2 separate regions of the Homo sapiens genome follow, and region 2 is linked to region 1. Evidence: promoter capture Hi-C in 16 types of primary human blood cells and fetal thymus (Javierre and others, 2016). All regions are on one chromosome and are shown on one strand. The core of a region is centred on a gene start or on the middle of the fragment in contact, and the rest is flanking DNA. Distances in the headings are between cores, read along the strand shown. Region 1 holds the start of HACE1 (HECT domain and ankyrin repeat containing E3 ubiquitin protein ligase 1). Region 2 holds the start of ATG5 (autophagy related 5).

The links. The method cuts DNA at HindIII sites, captures the fragments that hold promoters and counts their contacts. A CHiCAGO score of 5 or more calls a contact.
Region 2: a contact is called between the fragment with the promoter of ATG5 here and the fragment with the promoter of HACE1 in region 1, in 4 of 17 cell types (naive CD4 T cells, monocytes, non-activated CD4 T cells and 1 more). The highest score is 7.4, in naive CD4 T cells.

The regions. Positions count from the first base shown.
Region 1 is chr6:104,856,848-104,864,262 of GRCh38, reverse strand. It overlaps HACE1 (HECT domain and ankyrin repeat containing E3 ubiquitin protein ligase 1), which reads left to right and starts at 4,344. Exons shown (of 24, transcript NM_020771.4): 1 at 4,344-4,696. The coding sequence starts at 4,621. It also overlaps the pseudogene LOC100422315. RefSeq lists enhancers at 4,255-4,549, 4,164-4,663 and a silencer at 4,286-4,915. The HindIII fragment of the contact is 1,298 bases long and covers 4,214-5,511 here.
Region 2 is chr6:106,323,106-106,330,520 of GRCh38, reverse strand. It overlaps ATG5 (autophagy related 5), which reads left to right and starts at 4,761. Exons shown (of 8, transcript NM_004849.4): 1 at 4,761-4,995. RefSeq lists enhancers at 4,562-4,881, 4,902-4,951, 6,599-7,099, 7,100-7,415. The HindIII fragment of the contact is 6,577 bases long and covers 3,380-7,415 here.

The DNA.
Region 1 (7,415 bases), core at 3,095-5,594:
GTCCCAGCTACTCGGAGGCTGAGGCACAAGAATTGCTTGAACCCAGGAGGCGGAGGTTGCAGTAGGGGTTGCAGTGAGTGGAGATCATACCACTGCACTCCAGCCTGGGCAACAGAGCAAGACCCTATCTCAAAACGACAACAATAACAACAACAACAACAAAAACTAATCAAGATGAAATCCAGCAGGACAAATGTAGGATCCTTCACTTTGATTAAGAAATTCTGTAGCATGGGTACTGGATGAAAGTGTAGTTTAGTGAGACCCGTGGCTGCCTCTCATTGCTAACTCCAAAGTCCCTTCTACTGGCTTATGTGTCCCCTGCATTTCCTGCCTCTACTTCCAGACCTACAGTCTGCTTTGTTTTTCCTTTGATAGCTTCCTCTGTCCACTCCATTTCTTGGGATTTTCAACCTACCCTACCCTGGCTTTGGCCATGGTCTTCCTAGTTGCCACCTCAGTGACACTGCTCTGAAGAAGGGCACTCGGATGCGTTGTATTTTTGTAACTGTAATATATGTGCTTTAAAAGGATGTGTATTCCCTCTTCATTAGTAGTGAAGTGAATGTTCACACGTGCCCTTTAATGAGACTTGTAGTTGAAGTTTTTTAATCTTCTGTATCTTTAACTGTCTTTTTCTGCTAGCTTTATTCGTTTCAGAGCGAAGGGTGTGAAAAATCTAGCACCATGGTGTGGAACTTATACTTGTAATTCTGTCAAGTGTAGCTTTATTTTTAGTCTATGTCTTTAGGTGTAGGTTCAGGACTAGTATAAACTTTCTGGTAACTCTCTTTGACTCTAATAATGTTTTTTCCTTTAAAATTTATTTTGCTGATATTAATATTGTTCATGATAGTTAATTTTCTGTGCCAACTTGGAGGGTGTTTTTGGAAGAGATGAACATTTAAATTGGTTAAAGCAGATTGCTCTCCATAATATGGGTGGGCTTCATCCAATCAGCTGAAGGCCTGAATAGAAGAAACAGCAAGAGGGAATTTTTCAGCAGACTGCCTCCAGACTTCATCTGTCTTACTAGCTGCCCTGGCCTTTGACTGGAATGGCATCATCAGGTCTCTTGGGTATTGAGACCGCTGGTCCAAACTGTAGATTTTGGATTTGCTAGCTTCCATAATCACGTGAGTCAATTTCTGATAATAAATCTCTTTCTCTCTCCATATATATACACACATTCTACTGGTTCTGTTTCTCTAGAGAACCCTGATATATTTTTATATCACATTTATTTGGCTAATATTTTCTATGGTATCCCTTTTTTCCATTTCCTTTTGGAAATGGTGGTCCCTTAGAAACAGCAAATAGCTGTTTTATTTGATCTTTTCAGATGTAAGAAATAAATCAGATCAAGTACAAATTGCGATCCAGGATATTTTGAGTCAGTGTTGAGAAGCTTGCCTTACTGCATTTCCCGTACAGTTTATAAAGCGTAAAGATGAAGTACTTTGGCCTTTTTTCATGATTGTCTGTTATACATTAATTTTTTTAGGGAAACTATTTAAGCTGATTTGTCTATAGCTGATTGGCTTAGTTTCACTGAATCATGCTGACAAGGATATAAACCTTGCGTTTTGTGTTTATTATTACAGATGGTGTTTTGGGGAAATGAGGATGATGAGTTTTGGTTTGTGGTTATACACAGTTGGACTTGGGTATATCTAAACTGTGGCCTCCATTTTTATTTTTCTTTAACACACTATCTAAGACCTCTATGTTTTAGAGTAAACATTGAGTTTACTCTGTTTATATTTTCTGTGACCATGGATATATTTAGATTTATTTCTACTGCTACTTTATGTTTTGTTTTTATGACCATTTTTCTTTGCTTCCCACCCATTTCCTGCCTTTTGTTGAACAGATTGTTTTTCTCTTCTCTTTCCCTTAATGCTTGGGAATCTTCAATAAAACCAATTTCCAGGAAGAAAAAAATACCAGATATACAAAAAAGAAAGTTGAAACTGTCTGGGCCACAGAAGAACCTGGGTTATCATTAGTGAAAAACTCTACGCTTTTGTTAATGGAACTTATGATACAAAGTGCCCTTTTGAAACTTCCACTTGATGTTTTTGGTGTTGGTGACAGGTGAGAAAATCTACTCTTTAGCTAATAATAATCTATAAGAAGCTGTTTAGCTGTTTTGGTGTTCTCCTGGGCAGCTTTCTTCTTGGTGTGATAAGTTGCCCTGTCTAATACGGTAACCACAAGGCACATACAGCTATTTAACTTAATTAGTTTCATTACTTATACTTTAATACAAATTTAAAATTCAGTTGCACCAGCCACATTTCAAGCACCCAGTAACCCCATTTGGTTAGTGGATGCTATTTTGGACATTGCAGATTATAGAATATTTCTATCATTGCAGAAAGTTCTGTTGGACAGGAGGTGATAAGCTGATAGTAGTACTGCAGCTTTATACATTTTGAAGCAGAGCTATTGGGAGACGGCATCATATTGCAGAATTTGGAACTGACAATTCACATCAGCATTACCTGTTCCATTATCTTCTGCTCCTGTGGTGAACAGTGACCAGCATGAGATGCAATGCCCACCATGGAGGCTGCTGGGGGCTCCTACCCCTGCCCACAAACTCCAGGCTTGGTCCTCACAGGACGTTGGAGGTAATTTATATGGAGCAACAGCCTAGAGAGCAATGGTGATAACAGCAGCTGAGAGAAGCTGAGGGGCCAACTTCTGTACAGCAGTGGGAATCCTGACTTTTTGAATAGCATAAGAGGCCAAGCAAGACTGGAACATTTTTAGTTGAAGCCAGGTTGCAAATGGTTGAGCCTGGGCTAGACTGGTCCATAACGTCTGGTATTTCTTTCTTCCTTTCCTTTTTTTTTGAGACAGGGTCTCGCTCTGTCACCCAGGCTGGAGTGCAATGGCAGGATCTCAGCTCACTGCAGCCTCTGTCTCTCGGGTTCAAGCGATTCTCCTGCCTAAGCCTCCCGAGTAGCTGGGATTTCAGAGGCACACCACCACGCCCGGCTAATTTTTGTATATACATATTTTTAGTAGAGACAGGGTTTTACCATGTTGGCCAGGCTGGTCTCAAACTCCTGACCTCAAGTGATCCGCCTGCCTTGGCCTCACAAAGTGCTGGGATTACAGGCATGAGCCACTGCGCCCAGCCTCTGGTATTCTTTTGAAACTTTGACCTCTACCACCTTGTTGCCAGACTGGTTTAGGTATCATCTGATTAGGTGAAGATTACAGAGGTCTTCCCCGTGCCTGTGGCACCACTGGCACAAATGGTCACTAGCTGGAACTGATTTAGGACGGCACTGGCAGGGAAAACACATGCCAACCACCATCTGCCCCTTCATATCCTGAATGGGCAGGTGAGACTCTCTTTCACTTGGCCAGCCAACATACATCATCAACGTACATGTGCCCATTCATTTCAGGAACAGCTTTGTCTCTTTGAGGAAGAGAAGCTGAAAAAGACAAGCCTTTTGTTTCTCCCTCACTCCAGCATCATCTTGGCACTGGTAATATATCCAAGATATATTGGTGTTAGCCAGGCTCACATTTACCCCTTTGATTGGGTTAATTTTTTGAAGTTCCAACTTCTGTTGTTTCAAGTGTTCAACTTCTGTGCAGAGCTTATGAATATGATTTTTCGCCACTGAGTTCATTTCTTCCACAATGTAGGTATCCAAATTTTTTGTAACTTACAAAGTCAAATCCTTTGGATTTCCCACTAGGCTGTGTCATCACATAGACACTTTAGCATTGTACCAAATAAATGAAAAAATTTTTTCAGGTTGTCATCATTCATATCTTCCCCAGAGCTTTAACTTTGTGCTAGGTGCCTTGTTAAGTACAGGGATACAACACAGTTCAAGATTAAATGTCCCTGCCCTCATAAAGCCGCCCGGCAGGAAAAACAACTAATTAAGCTATTGTCAAGTTATTTACAATGAAGACAAAAGCACAATATGCTTTTGGATTTGTTTGATTTTATTACTCTTTAAGTTTGACATATGAAAATACCATACTTAAAACAGTTCATGTAGGGTACCTGAAACAAAGGCACTAATACAGTACTAGAAAGGTGGTGACGGATTTAAGAACAATTGTGCCAATTTCTAATCTGTTTTATAGTAAAGTTATAGAATTGGAGGAAACTGCTCCTGTACAACTTTGGAGGAGGGTAGGAGGAGCAGGGCGTGAGAATGCCTTTCCAGAAGCTTAGGAGTACGCCCAGTCGCTGCGTGGCTTCCCGCATACTCAGCCCTGCGCCCGCGTTGGCGTGGCCTGGGCGCCCCCAACGTGACTCCGCCCAGGGCGCTCCGTTCTGCCAGCTGGAAACTACAGTTCCCAGAAGGCCACGCGAGCCCGGGAGGGACGCGGCGGCGGGGGCTGCAGGAAAGGCGCGAGCAGAGGCGGCGGCGGGTGTACTGTAGGTGGTCGGTCCGGCAGCAGCCCGGCCCCCGGACGCAGGACGTGGCCCCAGGCAGCCCTCGCAGCTCAGTGCTCTAGCCGGGGCAAGCCCGCGTCTCCGCCTGCTGGACGGGCCCAGGCGAGATGTAGGGCTCTGGGCGCGGAGGCCGCCGGTGGGGCGGCTGATCGCGGAGGATCGCGGAGGGCGCGCCGAGGATGGAGAGAGCGATGGAGCAACTCAACCGCCTGACGCGCTCGCTGCGCCGCGCGCGCACCGTGGAGTTGCCCGAGGGTGAGCCGGGTCGCGGGGCCAGGCTGGCCGCGGGGCTGGGGGCGGCCAGTGGGGCAGGAGCTCCGGCCGCGTCAAGGTCGGGTGGAAAAACTAACTGAAAGCTGAGAAAACGCCCACTTTTACTTTCCAGAGCTGAGAGGCGGCCCCGGGCCCCGAACTCCCCTGGCCCGACGCTCCCACCCCGGCAGGTGGGAGTTTTCGGGAGGAAACTGGGTTGGTGGGGGTTCCGCTGCTGGGAGGAGCGAGACAAAGGTCTCGCAACGTCTGTCGATTAGGGGTCTTGGCAAAGGGGCAGGAATACCAGCCGGAGGCCCGAGACCCGGAGTCAGAAAACATCATAATTGCGGGTCATTTAACAGTAGCTGGGGATAGAGATGATCCAAAGATACTGTTTACTTTAAGCTGCATCGGGGGGCCAGGCGGGCTTTTATTTTTGTTATTTTTTAAAATGTGGGGCACTGCCTTGTTTTGATAACAGGCAAACAAAGGGTTGTCAAACATCAAACAGGTACTCTTAAAGTACTGTATGGGTAAACACAATATATTTTTCTTTAATATGCATGCCTGCCTTCATTCTTCATTTATTCATCAGACTAGTATTGAGTGGGCTAGCTGGTAACTAGGACGCATCTGCAAAGAGGAATAAGGCATGGTCCCTGAGGATCAGGACTTTTAGTTCAGCGTGCCAGGGTTCCCTCAGGACAGGTAAAACTCTGCTAATAACAAGGAGAGAAAATAAGCAGTTTTGTTTGCAGCGTCAGGAATTCAGACATTTTAGTGGTGATGGGAGACAGCAGTGCTGCTTCTAAGAAGCTTTTGGCTCTTTATGCCCAAGTGAGAGAAGGGTTGGGAGGAGGTTGTAGCTGGTGAATAGCTTTTTTCTTAATTGTAGTAGTTTATCTTACTTTTTCAAAACTCTCTTTGAATTGCTGCTGGGTGGTTTGTAGGATAGGGAAGGAGACCTTGGCAGACGGTCATGAAAGAAATGTGGGATTGGGTACTTTGGCGATAATTTTCTTTCCTTTCTTTTATAGAGATGAGGTCTCACTATGTTCCCCAGGCTGGTCTTGAACTCCTGGGCTCAAGTGATCCGCACCCTGCTCCCCCCAAAGTGTTGGGATTACAGATGTGAGCCACCGCGCCTGGCCTGGGGATAATCTTCTTGAAAAAATGGTCTCTAGTCTCTATTTAGAATTCAGATTTTGGTAACTAGATTCTAGCTTCAACTTTTTCTATATTTTCTTTCCAACTTCCACCTTTGAATCCATTTCTTAAGTGCTACTCTTACTTATTTTTCGTAGTCGAATTATTGGTATAGCTTTATGAAGACTACATGTATAATTTATATTGTCTAGTTTGAATCCCGATATTTTTTACATAAATGTGATTTAGAAGACTTTGATAATGTTACTTGGTTTTAAAAGTAATATAGTTTCATTGTAGAAAATTTGGAAAATAAAGAAAAATAGAAAAAAATATGTCATTTCACCATCCAGTTATAAACAGTGTTACCATTGTTATTTCTTTTTCCCTCCCTAACAAGTTAAAATCATGTTGCATATAGTCTTTTATTTTGTGTTTAGAAAACATCCTTTTTTTTTTTTTTTTTTGAGACGGAGTCTCACTCTGTCGCCCAGGCTGGAGTGCAGTGGCGCCATCTCGACTCACTGCAAGCTCTGCCTCCGGGGTTCACGCTATTCTCCTGCCTCAGCCTTCCCAGTAGTTGGGACTACAGGCCCCTGCCACCAGGCCCGGCTAATTTTTTGTATTTTTAGTAGAGACGGGGTTTCACCGTGTTAGCTAGGATGGTCTCGATCGCCTGACCTCGTGATCTGCCCGCCTCGGCCTCCCAAAGTGCTGGGGGATTACAGGCGTGAGCCACCGTGCCCCGCCCCAAATGTTTTTTTTTTTTTGTATTCTTCAATAGGCTTAATGACTTCAGAATTTCATAGGATGCATGTAACAAATGTTGAATCTAAATACTGTTTTTAAACTGATTTTATGAGAAACAGCTTTGTATTTAAGACATAGTCTGCCTCTAAATACTTCCTTAGGGTTAATTCTTACAAGAAGAATATCTACAATACATTTCTAAGGCTCAACATATCAGTTTCTCAACTTACTCCTTGGAAAGTTCCACCAGCAGTCCGAGAGTGCCCAGAAACTAGAGTATTATTAGTAAAAGTAAAACTTTTCCACATAGGCAAAAATGGCATCGTTTGCATTTGCTTTTCTTTGATTATAATGTTCATTTTGTTCCTTGAATTTAATTTATCTTTGTCTCTAAGCTCTGATGAGTCTTTGAATTCTCTGAGCTTGGCTCTTTAAAGTATATCATACATATAGGAATATATATATATATATGTAAATATATATGTAAATATATATGTAAATAAATATATATATGTAAATATATATATAACATTCCTACTGATACAAATCCACATTTGTGCTTACATTTTAAGAGCTGAATGGAAACTCTGAGATCTCTCTAAATTTAGAAAATAATCAGATTTTTTTTGCTTTGTTAGAATTCAGTAATCAATAAGCATCTAATTACAACAAACTATTAAACTTGTAAACTTTTTAGTCAGCTTGTACTCTAAAATTAATTTTGTTGCAAAGGTTGAAACTATAGATGTTTGATAAACTGAGTTGGATGCTATGTTTCCTTGAGATGATGAAAACCTGAGTATTACCCTAAGTAATGGAGTGCAGG
Region 2 (7,415 bases), core at 3,512-6,011, 1.5 Mb before region 1:
ACCAAGCGATGTGGATCAAGATGGTGATACTAGGCGTCCTTGTGATATGTGCTCCTGAAGTGTGGTCTTTTTAATGTGTTGCTGCCTGACCATCATGGAAGCCTAGAATTCTCAGTTTGTGTGAGTAGAATCGAAGCTTATGTACTACTACCACATTCATAATATTACATTTTGTATGCTGAAGTAGGTTAATGTATGTTACAGCAATCATACAGGTTCTCCAGTTCCAGCAGGTGGAACTCCAGTTTGTAGCCTTTTTGTATAGGAATTCATGCCAGCTTTGTAGGAGTCTCCATTCTAGCAGGGGAGAGGTATCATTTGAGTAAGGATAAACGGATAGAGGAACAGAAGTGTGGTTGTGTTCTGGGAATGCACTGCAGAGTGTGCAGCCAAATGGAAGAAGTGATGCCTTTCCCCGTACAGATCCTAAAACTGACACTGAGACAGGATACGGTGATGGCGGAAAACTTTAACTGCTAGTGACTGCTGGAGACCCACTCTGCTAATGGCAGTGCATCTCAATTACTTTCAACGTGACTTGCTGATTTTCTCCCTCAGACATCGATGAAGTAACAAAGAAAACGACCACTTTCTACCTAAACTCTAAGCTATATGGAACAATTTAGATTATGAGGTGAAACTGATGGGAATCCTAGAAGAGAGCGCATGTTCAGCTTAGGTTACTTTGACAAACATTTAATAAATGCCAGGCATTATGCTGGGCATTGGTGATCAAAAAATTACCGAGGAAAGTATGAGGACCAACAAATCCAAATTGGGTGGGTCAGGAAATACTTTCCAAAACATGAATTGAGTCTTAAAAATGAGTGATGTGTGCCAAGTGAAGAAGAAAGAATGTGGTGATGGTGCTGGTGGGGGTAGTGTTCCGGGCAGCAGGGACAACAGCAACAAAGTCATAGAAGCATGGCATAGCCTTAGGGCTCAGAAGTCTTACAAAATATTGGATACTGTTGGATTTTTTGAAGCGCAAGGCAGGGAGAGCAGGGGAAGGAAGCTAGAAGGAAAGAAGAAATTAGCCATAAAAGACCTTGTTTACCATGCTAAGAAATTTGGAATTTGCCTAGAAGGAATCAATAAAAGGTGTTAAACAGAAGAGTGACATTGTTAGAATGCATTTTAGATAACATACACTGGTTGGATGCTGGGACAGGTAGAGCAGGACTGGAGGCAGGGAGATGGGGGGAAGCTATCCTAATAGTTCAGAAGTGATGAAGGTTAAAGGAAGCATTTTAATAGGATGGGAGAACATTTGAGCATATGTATAGGATGAAGGAAGAAACTAGTAGTAAGGGAAATCTGGGAGATGGGATAATTAGTTGGAGCAGTCAGAAGTGTTAGAGCTGAAGTATTAATAGAAGAATTAAATTAGGCTTAAATCATTCCTCTGAAACCAACAGGACAGAGATAAAAGAGAGCAGAATGGGACCTTGGGTCAGGAAGTAATAGCATGATAACAAGTGATGGTTAGGGTTCATGGAGGCAGTCAAGATAACTTACATTTTAGGAAAGTAGATTTAAATAAGTTTAGAATAAAGTTACGATCCCACAGTTTTGAGTCTTGCACTTTGTGAGGTGTGCAAAAATAAAAGCCAGACTTTACAACTACAAACTATTATAGTGAAAAGAAAAGAGAGCAATTTATTAACAAAGACTTCTTTGGAGTCTCTCCTTAGAAACCAGAATTTGGGAGGAGTTGTGTACTTGACTTTTGTTGAAAAGAGGACTTTATAAACAAGTTCGCACGAGTCAAAGGCTGCCTGAGAGTGCCGAGACCAGCTCGGTCGGGCAGACCCTAACCCAGCGGCGCTAGAGGAATTAAAGACACACACACAGAAATGAGCTGAGAGCCCCGAACAGAGATTTACCCACGTATTTATTAACAGCAAGCCAGTCATTAGCATTGTTTCTATAGCTATTAAATTAACTAAAAGTATCCCTTACGGGAAATGAAGGGATGGGCCGAATTAAAGGAATAGGTTGGGCTAGTTAACTGCATCAGGAGCATGTCCTTAAGGCACAAATCTCTCATGCTATTGTTTGTGGCTTAAGAATGCCTTTAAGCAGTTTTCCGCCCTGGGCGGGCCAGGTGTTCCTTGCCCTCATTCCGGTAAGCCCACAACCTTCCAGCGTGGGCTTTATGGCCATCGTGAACACGTCACAGTGCTGCAGAGATTTAGTTGATGGCCAGTTTTGGGGCCAGTTTATGGCCAGATTTTGGGGGTCTTGTTCCCAACAGAGAGTCACCCCCAATAAGCTAAAACTTGGAGGAAATGGTAAGGCCAACAAAAAGAGCTCTTTAAAAGTTATCTTCATAGAAAAAAAATTAAAAATTTGCAGTGCCACTGATTTGGAGAAAAGGCATAATGTTCACAAATGGAAATGACAGAGACGAAACATACAATTCCCTTTATTTCCAAATTTTTGCTCAAGGAGCATGATCATCATATAGAAACAAGTGTAACAACTATTTAATAGGAATGCTGATAACTGGACCATATCCAGAGGAGAGATATGGCATGTGAAGAATGGCTGAAAGAAATGACAATGTTTATCCCTGAGTGCATTACGGGGCACAAGAGCTACCTTTTCATATTGAAATGCTGTCTTTTAGAAGAAGAGTTAGTTATTTCTGTTGTATGTTGTAGATGGGTGAGGAAGAGAGAAGGACAAGGGGAGAAAGAAAGAAAATGGTCAATTTATAAAAATTACAGGAAGTTGAATTTTAAGTCAAATCAAGTAATCACCTTTCACCTATTGGGTTTCTTCATACATAGTTTCCCCCAAAACAATTTTTTTTTTTTTTTGAGACAGGGTCTCTCTCTGTTACCTAGACTGCAGTGATACAATCATAGCTCACTGCAACCTTGACCTCCTGGGCTCATGTAATCCTCCTTCCTCAACCACTGGAGTAGCTGGGACTGTAGGCGCATGCCACCATGCCCTCCTAATTTTTGTGTTTTTTGTAGAGATGTGGTCTTGCCATGTTGTGCAGGCTGGTCTTGAACTCCTGGGCTCAAGCTATCCTCTTACCTGGGCCTCCCAAAGTGCTGGGATTACAGGCATGAGCCACTGTGCCTGGTCCCAACATTTTGTTAGGAAATAATTTTGAACACACAGCAAAGCTGAACAAATTTTACAGTGAATACCCATTTACAATGAACCTAGATTCTACCATCTAGATTCTACCATTATATTTTACCATTATATTCTACCATTATATTTTACTATATTTGGTTAATCACATATTTATCCATCTATGCGCCCCTAAATCCATCTTATTTTTTAGATACATTTTAAAGGAAATTTTATATACTTTTGTCTGACACTGGGAAGGCAATGCACCTTAATCCCACAAGCTTTCTTACAGAGGCTAATAGCTGTTTACTGGGGACACTGTAGTGAGGATTTCTGCATTGAGTAGGTGAAGAGGACCATAACTGTGGCTTTCAAACTTTTCTGACTGCTACCCTTACTAAGAAATGTATTTCACATTCCTATCCAGTGTACACCACATACATACTGAAGTAAAAATTTTGGGACACAATATTTACCCTTTACATGTGTGAAGCATGCTGATATTTTCTATTTTATTTCATTTAAAAAGATGCTGGGCATGCTTCCCTAACTTGATTTAGATACCCACTAATGTACTGTAATTTACCATTTGAAAATCATTGTACTTAGTCCAACTCCAAGAAGATTTTTCTTTTTAAAAGAATCCTGTGGCTACTACTAGAATTTTCCTTATGTTCCCAATTATCAAGAACCTGTTTTGAGTCTCAGCACAGTACTTACTTAACATGCATGGCGTTAAGGCACGTGTAATTAAGAGAAAAACCTTAAATGCCTGCTAAGACTTCTGGATAGAGCCAATTCAAAGATTCTTTATTAGTAAGTTTACCAATTATTACTATTTTTTTTTTGAGACGGAGTCTCGCTCTTTCGCCCAGGCGGGACTGCGGTGGCCCTATCTTGGCTCACTGCAAGCTCCACCTCCCGGGTTCACGCCATTCTCCTGCCTCAGACTCTCCAGTAGCTGGGACTACAGAAGCCCGCCACCGCGCCCGGCTAATTTTTTTTGTATTTTTAGTAGAGACGGGGTTTCACCGTGTTAGCCATGATGGTCTCGATCTCCTGACCTCGTGATCCGCCCGCCTCGGCCTCCCAAGGTGCTGGGATTACAGGCGTGAGCCACCGCGCCCGGCCCCAATTATTTTTACAAAGAGTAAGATAAAGATATGTACTCTTGGATGGGTGGGAGGGTTCAGTGCTCATATAGTCTTCTGTTAAATTAGGTTATTAATGCCTGCGGTGGTTCCAACAAAGTAGAGAAGAAGATCAAATAAGAAAATGGATGGGAAAGTACTTTGAAAACTAATGTTTTATTAATACTGTTGTGTGATGCCAGGAAGAAAGGGATGTTGCGATCAAGCTCTAGGGAGGCAGTGTTTCAGTATTTTAAAAACTGTTTTTGTGGAACTGTTAAGTTAACCTCCCCAAGCCCCAATAACTACGCTTTGACGCAAGATTCTCAGAAGAGGGTAGAAGCTATGAACTTGGAGAGGTTTGGTCGCGAGTTCAAGCGTACTGCCCCGTTGGCGCATGCTCAAGAGCGACTCGGGCCTCCTTGCTGGGTTAGGCAGAACACGGAGGGCGGAGTTCGGACCACGTGGGGTCTCGTGACGTCATCTCCGGGCGCCGAGGGTGACTGGACTTGTGGTGCGCTGCCAGGGCTCCGCAGCGTTGCCGGTTGTATTCGCTGGATACCAGAGGGCGGAAGTGCAGCAGGGTTCAGCTCCGACCTCCGCGCCGGTGCTTTTTGCGGCTGCGCGGGCTTCCTGGAGTCCTGCTACCGCGTCCCCGCAGGACAGTGTGTCAGGCGGGCAGCTTGCCCCGCCGCCCCACCGGAGCGCGGAATCTGGGCGTCCCCACCAGTGCGGGGAGCCGGAAGGAGGAGCCATAGCTTGGAGTAGGGTACGTGTGTGTGTCCACCTTGTGTGAGGAAATTCCTAGAGGAGGAGGGCTGGGGAGGGGCCAGGTAGGTGTGGTAGGAAGGAGGGGTGAGTAGTTGCCTGGAGGAGCGCCCGCCCGGCCGCGATGGCGGGTGAAGGTGGTTCCTCCGGGCAAGGTGGAGTTGGCGAGACGCCGGCCCGGAGCCCTGGGGCCGGTTGGCGGGTGTGGCCTGCGGGGTCCCTCTTGGGGTACATGTCTGTTGCTTACTAAGGTAGGAAAGCGAGAGTCTAGTCGCAGGCTCTAGAGTTCAGTTCAGGACCTGAATTGTTTGTGGAACACAGTTATTTAAACCTTTATTGCACAGTGCAGTGTGAGTCTGTCCAAACTCGGTGGGTATGTCCTCCAAGCAATTTATCTATTTACGATATTCCCTGTCTCAATAACAATATTTAGTGCTACCAAAGACATTTTCTGTTGGCAAGACACTTTTACATACTTCATTTGTACTTTGGATTATTTTAAAATTATCCTGAACTTGAGGAACCTAGGAAACTATTGGTTCTAGATTTTTCTGAGGGGTGAGGAGGTACAGCCTGTCTTGAGCAATCAGAACCCGGAGACTTACCAGACAGTAGCTGAACTTCCAAAGCCTTCCAGAATTGGCTTGTTAAATTTCTGAGACCTTGAAACTGGATACTTGGCTCTGAACTGAACTATTTGTGATTTCCATAGAGGGAGTTTCTGGTTGAATTTTGAATTTGAAAATAACGATGTTGTGCTCAGGGTAGTAATTGAGAGGTATTTTACACCAGATTTAAGCCTGTGCTTTTATCTTCAAAGATATGCTACTTAAAATTGGGGGAAAGTGTACAGAATGGAACTGTATGGATATGGATTTTTAGAATAGTGCACACACCTCAAGTGTGTATTTATTTCATTAATTTCCCCCAAACTGAGTACCTCCTATGTGTTAGGCACTGGACAAAACAGTAAACAAAATAGTAAACAAAAGAATAAAAATCCCTGCCATCATGAAGTTCCACTTTGGGGATGGGGTGAGAAGACATTGATACAAAAATTAAGGTACAGTCTTTCCTGTCCCTCGGCATCTGTGGGAGATTGGTTCCAGGACCTCCCTTGGATACCAAAGTCCTCAAATGCTCAAGTCCCTGATATAAAATGGTGTAGTGTTTGCAGATAACCTATGCACATCCTCCTATCTTTAGTTCAACTCTGCATTATTTATAATGCGCAATACAACTTAAATGCTGTATAAATAGTTGTTATGGTGTATTGTTTAGGGAATAATGACAAAAAAGAGTCTATACATGTTCAGTACTGACTTTTTTTTCCTTCCCCGAATATTTTTTCATCCATGATTGGTTGAATACAAGGACGAAGAACCCATGGGTAGGAAGGGCCAACTGTGTACGTCAAGTGGCGGAAAGTGCTAGAGAAAAAAACCAAAGCAGTGCAGGGGTATAGGGAATGCCAAGAGATGGGAGTGGTGGCCATAGAAAAGATGATATTAACTTGGAGGCCTACGGGTGATAAAGAAGGGTGCCACTTGGAAGGAGCTGCCACTGAAGCCCTGAAGCAGGCGCATACTAGCTAGTTTGACTGGAAAATAATGAACAAGAGGGAAAGAAGTAGTGGATACTTAGGTGGAAATGGGGCCAAGTCATTTAGGAGCATGTGGGAATTTATAAGAACCTTAATTTGTACTTTGAATGAGTTGGGTTTTGAGTAAGCAGTGAGTTGATCTAACTTGTGTTTTAAAAGATCTGATTGCTATGTTGACTGTATGCAGCAGGTGCAGAAATAAGAGTTGTTAGTAGGCCATTGACTGCATTTATCCAGGTTAAAGGTCGAGGTGACTTGAATCAGGGTAGTAATAGTGGCGGTAGTGCGAAATGACCAGATTCTAGACTTTTGAGAGCAGTCAGGTAGAAGAAGGGTCAAGGACGACTCCAAGGGTTACGGACTGAGCAACTAAAGAATATAACTTGGCCGGGCGTGATGGCTCATGCTTGTAATACCATCTTTGAGAGAATCCCCAGCCTGGGCGACATAACGAGACCCTGTCTCTACAAAAAAATAAAAAATTAGCTGGGCATAGTGGCATGAGCCTGTAGTCCTGGCTACTTGGGAAGCTGAGATGGGAGGGGAGGATCACTTGACCCCCTTGAGCTCAAGGTTACAGTGACCCATGATCCTTCACTGTAGTCCATCCTGGGTGACAGCAAGACCCTGTCTCTTTAAAAAAAAAAAAAAAAAAAAAAAAAAGGACTTTTCCACTTAGCGAAACGGAAAAGACCACAGAGTGATAATGATAGGAGAACTTTTTGTTGGGAGGCCAAGGCGGGCGGATCACGAGGTCAGGAGACCGAGACCATCCTGGCTAACACGGTGAAACCCCGTCTCTACTAAAAATACAAAAA